Linked DNA regions of Homo sapiens: region 2 is linked to region 1. The links are contacts of gene promoters, found by promoter capture Hi-C in human tissues and cell types (Jung and others, 2019). All regions are on one chromosome and are shown on one strand. The core of a region is centred on a gene start or on the middle of the fragment in contact, and the rest is flanking DNA. Distances in the headings are between cores, read along the strand shown.

Region 1 (4,651 bases), core at 1,405-3,904:
TTTAATCATCAGCCAGCCCTTCCTTTGATTTGCTGCCTAAACTCAGTATCATAGGGAAGTGAATGGATCTAGAAAGCTATCAGAAACTTTGTAAACACACCTGCAGGAGTCTCTACATGGTAAAAGGGAAGTCATTGTCACCATGTCAGAGAAGGGCTCATTGTCTTAGTCATTTAGGGGTATGCTTTTGAGTTTTACTCATTTCTCTCCTCCACATTGCTCCAGGAAGTCCATGAATTATGTCTAAACAAGTTTTAAGTTAAAAAGAAGACCACAGGGGGAATTCTAAAGTGTTTGGGATTGAGTAATAAGAATACCGCATATCAAACTCATGGACAGAGTAAAATGTGCATCTGTAAATATATTTATCAAAAAAGAAAGAATTTAAACACTTGGAAACTGAGCAAAGGAACAAACCCAAAAAGTCTAAAAGGAATTAAATGCATAAGGGCAGAAATGAATAATATATAGAAAAAAACATATATATATAAACTTTGAATGCAGATTAAATGGACAACTTAAACAATCAAAATAATTAAGTATCAAAGTTGATACAAGAAGAAATACATAATTTAATATACAGTAACTTTTTCATAAGTTGAAAAAGTATACAATCTATCGCTCATCTCCTTTTCTGGGATTTTGTCCCCTATGACATTGACACAACGCTAAACCAATAGCAGTAATCCTTTATTGTCATTACACTACCCTGCCTAAAATAAACAGCTTCTCTCAAAAAATATTCAGTACACATTCAGCTGTTGATGTCCAAGAATGCAGGGACTCAAGAACATTCATCCTGCCTTACTTCCACTTACAGATCTATCTCTCTTTCTCTTGGAGATGGAACCAAAATAGCCCAGTTTTTTCTGATATTTTCCACTAAATGATAAACTGACAAGTGCGCAAAAATGAAAATAAAGTGTAAGCCACCAGAGTATGTAGAATCTTTTTATTTAGGGCTTTTCTGGTGGAAAACCATAGTAGGACTGGTTTCTTCTACCTTCTTTTCTGAACATTTTTAAGACCCCATATGTATATCACAAAAATATTCTTCCACATGGAATCTGTGATGTAATATTTAAGAAAAAGAACACCTGTTTAATGGAACAGAATAAAGTGCTACCTTTTTTGGGAGGCAACCGGTTATCCATTTGCATACACGGCTGAAGTTGCTTCTCTTCTTGCTGAAGGGTTTTGCCTCCACCCACTGTGAGTGCAAAACACGTTGATGTCAGCATAATGTAGAGAGGCAACTGACCAAACACTACCCAGTACTCCTCTCTGATTTAAAACCGCTTCCAAGGATAACTTGCTCCATCACAGCAGTGCCCATTCACCTCCATTATGTGCTTCCCTTGATATTTATTTTACTTTTGTGATTGTTTTGGTTGATTAAAAATATATGGAAGACCTGAAAACTACAGAGAACAAACAAATAACCCTGCCAATCCAGAATTCTAAATCCGTGATAATATTCCTCCAAAGTGAGAAATGGAAAGAATTCATTGCCAGTAGACCTGCCCTGTAAGGAACACTAAAAGAAGCCTTTCAGGCAGAAGGAGATTGCTATAGGTCAGAAACTCGGCAGTATGAAAAGAAAGGAAGAATGTCAGAAAAGGAGTAAGCAAAGGTAAAACAAATTCCTTTTTTCCCCCTGTATCTTAATAGAGCTGGAAGATACTATCTGCTTATTGATAAGATCAACTCAAGCAGAGGCTAATCATTCGTTACACGTCCACATGCCCCTGTCCGTATCTTCAGTTTCCGTGGATAGAGCAGCCACTGATGCAAAGCTTTATGGCAGGAAGCTCAGTGGAGAATCAGAATGGAGCAGTCTCCTATCAGGCAACCCCTTACCATCAGAATTCAGCACCAATATGTGCTGGTCAGGTTAGACCTCAGGATTTTACCATATCAGATTATATGATACCTAGTGCCCCAAAGATACCAAAGTCCTGAGATTGGATTTGCAAAATATTTTTGAATAAGCAATTTGTCAACCATCATTATCACACATTGGAACCTCTTCTGGGGCTGCTGTTTATTTCAATACATATATACATACACACCAAATGCACACACAAACCACCCATACGTATGCACCACATACATACATACAACATAAACACATGGTACAAACTCCCCTTATGTTCTCCACACATACACTCCAGACACATAGCAAACCAAACATATAAATACGTTACAATACTGCATCCTCAAAACGGAAGTACAAACTACAAACACCACACACATAACCACACACACACATAAATGATGGGCACAGATGCACCAGGCGTACACAGTGTGCCACACACATTACAGACACAGCACACCACAGCTATACAAGCATCACACACTGTACAACACATACTTCTCTTTCCTTGTGTCCCTGTGAACCTCACACTGATTGCTAAAAATATGTTCTTTTTTCTCTTGTGAAAAGCCTCAGAAGATAGGGCATATTCCACCCCTCCCCACATTTTCCCCTATTGCTAAGTACTTTCAATAATATCTTTGCCAGGGAATGCCCCCTTACGGCCCTCTGGGGAATCAACTGATTGCTCATTTCATTTAATGAGCCCCGTAGACTAACCTGATTCGGGACAAAAAAGTGATTTCTTCTTCCGCTGTGAAGACTTTTCTCTCAACTTTACACAATATTGACTTTCTAGGATTACCAAGTTTAGCCCCATAAATCATTCACCAAATCTTTTGACATCACTGTGTCGAAGTTAAAAGCTTAATTTTTAACTTTACTGTTACCTTTTCCTTAAAGCTTCAGGGAAGGTGTGTGGGTCAAAATCATCCAGTGGACCAGAAACTGGGAATCTGCCAGTAATTTCATGGCATAATAAGCAGACACCCTTAGTCTCTCTCCCTGCCCAGGAGGTAGAGCTTGCCTGCCATAAGTGCTCTCAAGATTTCTCTATTAAGGATGGCTCTGAGTATACAATGCTGTTCTCACAGGAATGTTGTGGCTTTCTAAATGCCCCATAAATGCCATATTAAATTTTTACTCTTAATTCCCTTCCTTCCTTTCTTCCTCCTTTTCTTCCTTTTTTCTTTCTTTCTTCCTTCTCTTTCCCTTCTTCCTTCTCCCTCCTTCCTTGCTTTCCCTCCTTCCCTCACCCTGTCTCCTCCACACTCCTCTCTAAACAGTACATCTGTTTGACATTCAGCATACTCAGAAAGAGGTACATTTTATTGAGGCATGTCCTCTGGAAGGTGTGGCTTCTCTCATGGCTCTTCCTGCAATTACTGTAGGTTCTGGTTCATCCACTTGGTTATAGCAATATCCAGAAACATTAAAAAAAAAACATAGAGAGACAGGATCTCACACTGTCACCCAGGCTGGAGTGCTATGGTGCAATTATAGCTCAGTGCAGACTTGAACTCCTGAGCTCAAGGGATCCTTCCACTTCAGCCCCAAGTAGCTGGGATTACAGGTATGCAACACTGTACCCAGCTAATTGGTAGAGACAGGGTCTTGCTGTGTTGCCCAGGTTGATATCAAACTTCCTGCCACAAGCAATCCTTGTGCCTTGGCCTCCCAAGTGTTGGAATGACAGGCGTGAGCCGTCGTGCCTGGCCCCTAATACTTTTAACTTAGAACTCTTTGAAGGTAATCTACTAATTACTTAAAAATATCCAAGCACTAAAATCAGTGATTTTGCATTATAGGTAATTTATTTCATGCTTAACAAGTTTTTTTTTAATTTTTATCATGCTTTTAAAGTGCTCATTAAATGTTTGGCACATAGCAGATGCTCTGTAAATTCAACCAGTTATTTTTTTCCTCTAAAGAAATGTTGTAAATCTTTAACCCCTTTGCCCAGGAGACTTTGATGTTGTTATTCAGTTAGATTTTTTCTTTTTCAAAAGTCCAGATTCTGCTGGTCCTCTTCTGTGTGTTGCAGAATGTTTGTACTGTCCTGTTTCATGCTGGGCAATTTCTGGCATTTTCTGAAAGAGGAGCCCTTTTAGTGATTGAAACCCCTAGGTCAGCAGTTGTTCAAAGTCCATGTGTTAAATAATAACACTCCCATCTGCCATCAGTATCCCAGTTCTGGATACTGATTACCTGAAGGAGAACCATCTTTCTGTTTGCTGGCCCCAAAGCTTTCTGCTGCTCTGTGAGATTCTTTGAAATTGTTTCTTTTGGATTCTGTGTTTTATGTATTAAATTTTTAAATTTATCATTTTATTATGGAAATGTTTAAGCATACAAAAAAGTAGATCAGTTTAAGATAACTGTGTACATATTCACCCACTTCAATAATTATCAATATTTGGCCATTTGAGTTTTCATTTGGCCTTTTGAATGTTATCAACAACATTCAATGGTTGTTTTTTGTAGCATTTTAAAGCAGATCTCAGACATTATGTCATTTCTTCTATAAAACATTCAGCATGGCTATCTAATTCATTAGGACCTTAAAAGATATAACTAACATGGTATCAGCACATCTAGTAAATAAACAATAATCCCTTAACATCACCTAATATCCAACCTTTATGACAATTTTCCCAATTGCTTCAAAATTGTGTCCTTTATATTTGCTTGATTTAAGTGAGGATTTGAATAGGATCCACATAATGGCGCTTAATTGTTACGGCTGTCATGTCTCTTATTTTATAATAATCCCCT
Region 2 (4,729 bases), core at 1,935-4,434, 45 kb after region 1:
ATCTTGATGCAGCATTTCTCCAGATGCTTTCTTGGACCAGAGCCACCCTAGCCATTGGTATAATAGAAATAATTATTATTGCCACTCTTATAAATTACTGCACCAGCCAGTCTACATCAATCCCAGATGGAGATATTACTGACCCTCTTCCTCCAGGTCACCCAGTTGGTAAATGAAAGAGATGATATTTGTTCAGAAGCCAGTTTGACCTGCAAAATTTTGCTTTTAAACACCTCGCAAGAGTGCCTATTTCTTGGAATTATCTTCCATAGCTGCTACTGTCTCCACTAGCTAGTTTCAAAGCATATGGATGATCAGATACAAAGCTTCAGCTTCCTGCCACTTCTCCCTCACTTTTGTCAGTCTTGTTAATATGGATTTTTACATTTTTCATTTTTATTTTTATCATATGAGGAAACTTGGGGTTGGGGAGTATATAAAAATTGTCCATTGCTATACAGAAAAGAGTTTTGGAGGTCTTCATCTCAATACCAAGAGAAGTGACTTACCGACTTAATGTCTGTGGAAGGGCTTCAAGTTGAACCCAGCGTTTCCTCCAAGCTTACTCCCTTGGACTTTTTGGAGCAGAGAGATGAGGATTCTTTGCCACCCTAGGGCTTAAGTTGCTAATCATTAATAAAAGTCATCAAACTACAAAGTTGACTCAGAAGGGCTTCTTGCCAAATAGGCTTTGAAGAAGCATTCGGAAATCCAGCCCAATCCCCTCTGCAGTTCTTTCTGCTTTTTGGCTGATGTAAGCTTCTCCACCTTCCCCTTGTGAGTGTCTCCTCAGGACCTCATAGGTGTCCTCTGGTTCAGACACTTGCATATAGCTATTTTGCTTTGCTTTGTGGTGTCTTCAATGTCTTTAGTCTTTTTTGAAAAGGTTAAAAAGAGATAAATTATAATTAAAGAGTTCAGTATTTTTGTGTTTTTTACTTTGCTATTTTTGATTTTCCCCCTTAATTGAAATTTTGTTAATTTTTTTCTTCTTTGAAATATGTGAATTGTAATATTATGGGTAAACTTGAACTTCATTCACTCTGTTGCTTTCTCTTTCCCTGGGTCCTTGTCCTTTTCTCAGCAAACCAAACCAAACCAAACCAAACAAGCCTGGCATAAATATAATATGATTTCTCCATTTTTTTCTATTCTTACTATTTATATGAGTATTCACAAACTATATGTAATAATGCTTTGTATTATTTCTAAATTTGCACACATGCTATCATGTAGCATTTATGGGCCATTCTGTAACCACTTTGGAAAATAAGTGGCATAAATTTGGCATACCTACATGTGCACAGTGAAGGCCAAACTCTTTCAGTTTCTTGTGGTTAACTCTTGCGCTAACACCCAGGAAGTCAAAAGCACTGTCACTGCTTTCCAAGAATGTGTATAGTTCTGCTTGTCCTTGTCTCATAGATGAGGCAAAGCCTTCAGACTCCTAGCTTTCTGTAGTTTATTTCCAGCTCTCTGAATGCCTTGGGTTCATAATCCAGACTCCTTTCTTTATATGAGCATTAGAGTCAGCCATGGAAATTTACACCTTGTTCTGTGCTTTAATGGCTTTCCTGGCCTTAGCTCATACTCATCACTTTGACTTTAAATCCCTTCTTACTTTATGGCCCTGAGGAGATCTCCTTTAGATTCTAAGTTTGACTCTTTATACCTATTTGAACTGTATTGTGAGAGGAGAGTGAGTAAACTACCTCTCAACACCCTGGCTGAGAAGTGGGAGCCTGGCAGTATATATCACAGATCAAGAATTCAGAAGGAGGAACCCGGGTCCTGGGGAGTCAGAGCTACCATTTACTGCGCATTTATTACATGTCATCCTCACAATGCTTTCAGGTAAGTTTTATTATATTCTTTATAACATAAAAGAAAAAAAACAGATTTCTTCCATCTGCACTTTAAGAATTTAAGTATGGAAAATTTAAGCCCGTTATCGTGTGGGGGTAGTGTCAATTTCACCTTTCTAGGTAAAAGATTTTTCCCTGAGTCATTTCTGAAGGACTCTGGACCCTGGGATAAATAATGATCAACTTTGGGATTCACATATCACAGGAAATGTTTCTGACCCTGAATTATCCAAGTCAGAAAACGTTACTTGGTTTTGCAATTTAATGTTTAACTTTATTTAAAGTGCTCCTGAGTTCTTTACATGCTACTTGGTTTGACTTGGTAGAAATAGACCCAAATTGTCTCTGTGTAGAAAGAATAACAATTCAGCTTTTCTTCACCTCTATGATTAAACACTTGAATATGAATTGAGATATTTCCTTGACTTAGGTTGTAATATCCATCTCTTTTAAAAAAAGAATTTTACATTTTCCTTTTGAATAAGATTTATTTTTAAACTGCTTTGTTTTAGCCATGGGGATCATCAGAAAAGATAGAGTACACATTTCTCCTTTAACAGTTATCTTTAGCCAGGCGTGGTGCTTCACGCCTGTAATCCCAGTGCTTTGGGTGGCCAAGGCCAGAGGATTACTTGAGGCCAGGAGTTTGAGACAAGCATGGGCAACAGTGAGACCTCCTCTCTACAAATTTTTTTTAGAAAATTGGCTGGAGATGGAGGACGCATTTGTAGTCCTAACTACTCAGGAGGCTGATGAGGAGGATTCCTTGAGCCTAGGAGTTCAAGGTTACAGTGAGCTATGATCATGCCAGTGCACTCCAGCCTAGATGACACAGCAAGACTCTCTCTAAAACAAAACAACAACCAAAAAAAAAAAAAAAAACAGCTATCTTCAGACTTGTTTCATAAGACTGTGAACATTGTTGTTAATAATCAGTCACATGACAGCTCAGCAGGATGCAGGCTCTGATTCTGGGTTACATTTCAGAGGACTCCAGTGCACAATCCTGTTGTGATCATAGGAAACCTGTCTCTAGTCTTCCTAGAGGAAGCCCAGGATGGGTCCAGGGAGAGGAAGCACCTTTAAGAGTCAGACCTTCCCTCAAAGCTCACAATGTCAGCAGGGATTCTGATGAATCAGGGGTAGCTGTCAAGCAAACACACTGAATGAGCCTAAGTCTTAAAACAGAAGACTTGACTAAATGGCAGTGGTCATTCACTGGAGCTTGGCTGGTTTTTCACACACACTCTGGTCTAAACAATGAACCCATATGTGATGTTATATCTGCTCAGAACCTTACATCTTCATGGTTCTGGCAAATCCTTTTTTCTCCAAGTTCAAGTCAGACTCCTGTTTTGCCTTACCATCTCTATGACAAATGGGGTCAATCTGGTCACTGTAGTTATCAGGCTGACATCATCTGGTCATGGGCTTGGAAGTCCATCTAGAACACTAGTGGAACACTCCATCTCTATTATTTTGTCTTCTATCGCTGAGCAAAATGGTGCATTTTTTGTTATCTACACAATGCATTAACTTATGTCCTAGATTGCCATACTGAAAACACGTCTTACTTTTTTCCTTACACATGTCTGCTTTCTAGTCTACTTTCCAGTTTCGATGCCATTTCTTTCAGCAACTATTTTGCCAGGAATGCCCAGCTAAAACTGCAAAATCATATATTGAGGACAATGGCTATGGAAAAGAAGAAAGAACAATTGTGACAAGTATAATCTCTAGGAGAATACACAAAAAAAAAATCAGGAGTGCTTATGGGCTGAGGTGTTATATGCTTTCAGATAGAATAGTAAACAAAATTGATATCTGTAGTGCATAAAGGATGTCATAATTATCAAGTGAGAAAGTGTTGCATTCTTTAACCAGCACAAGTTACAAAATTATACCATGCTGAATTCATATCAAGACAACTTCACCTACTACCAGGGACTTAGAGTAAATGTATTTTACTTTGTTGAGTCTCACTTGGAGATCATTGAAAAAAATTAGGAATAAATCATGAAACAAAATGAAACCATCCACCATACTTTGCATATAACAGAAAATCAATCAATGAAGGTCATCTGTCATAATTATCATTACCATTATTATTTCTATGACCACCTCTGAGACGTCATGATTAATATTCATGATTGAAATAAAGCAATTAAAAATCAAATTCATTCAAAATAATCAAATATAATTTAATTAAAAAGTTGGAGGCAGTCAGCCATCAGTCAAAAAATATTGTTACTGTATGCATTCCAAAAAGAAATGTAAAGGGATAGCATTCCCTAGAAACAATGAATAAAATAAAATTCCCTGTATTTAATAAACAGCATCTGTAAAACCTACAACAAACATTCCGAAGGTGAATCTTCCTGTTACAATCAGATACATAAAAGAGGTGTTTGCTACATCTATTCACTGGAAGGCCTAACTAGCACAATAACACAAGAAAGAAATGTGAAGCAATTAGAAAACAAGTAAAACTATGATTATTAACAGATGATATGATTGTCTACATAAGAAAACAAAAAAAATCTGTACATAAATTACTTAACTAATGTGAGTTTGGCAAATTTGACAGATGGAAAAGTGATATTCAAAGACTGACTGCATTTTAATTACCAGCCCAAAACAAAAAAAAAGATATTATAAAAAGAGATACAATTCACAATGGCAATAAAAGAATGTAACAGCCACAAAAGGATATAAAACCTAGGAATAAATCTAATAAAAGATGTAGAAGATCGTTACGCAGAAAATTGTAAAGCTTTATTGTAAGGTATTGAAGTCGAACTAAATAAAGAGACATAACATTTTTATGAACAGGAACATTCAAAAATGTAAAAATCTCGTCTCTC

The links. Contacts are between HindIII fragments. The study calls those that stand out against the background at their distance.
Region 2: a contact is called between a fragment that was not itself captured here and the fragment with the promoter of SLC17A1 in region 1, in 1 of the 25 tissues and cell types used here (liver).

What each region holds. Positions count from the first base shown.
Region 1 is chr6:25,829,398-25,834,048 of GRCh38, forward strand. It overlaps SLC17A1 (solute carrier family 17 member 1), which reads right to left and starts at 2,655. Exons shown (of 13, transcript NM_005074.5): 1 at 2,597-2,655; 2 at 1,127-1,210. The coding sequence starts at 1,160. The HindIII fragment of the contact is 3,299 bases long and covers 152-3,450 here.
Region 2 is chr6:25,873,658-25,878,386 of GRCh38, forward strand. It overlaps SLC17A3 (solute carrier family 17 member 3), which reads right to left and starts at 586. Exons shown (of 13, transcript NM_001098486.2): 1 at 510-586. The HindIII fragment of the contact is 5,482 bases long and covers 444-4,729 here.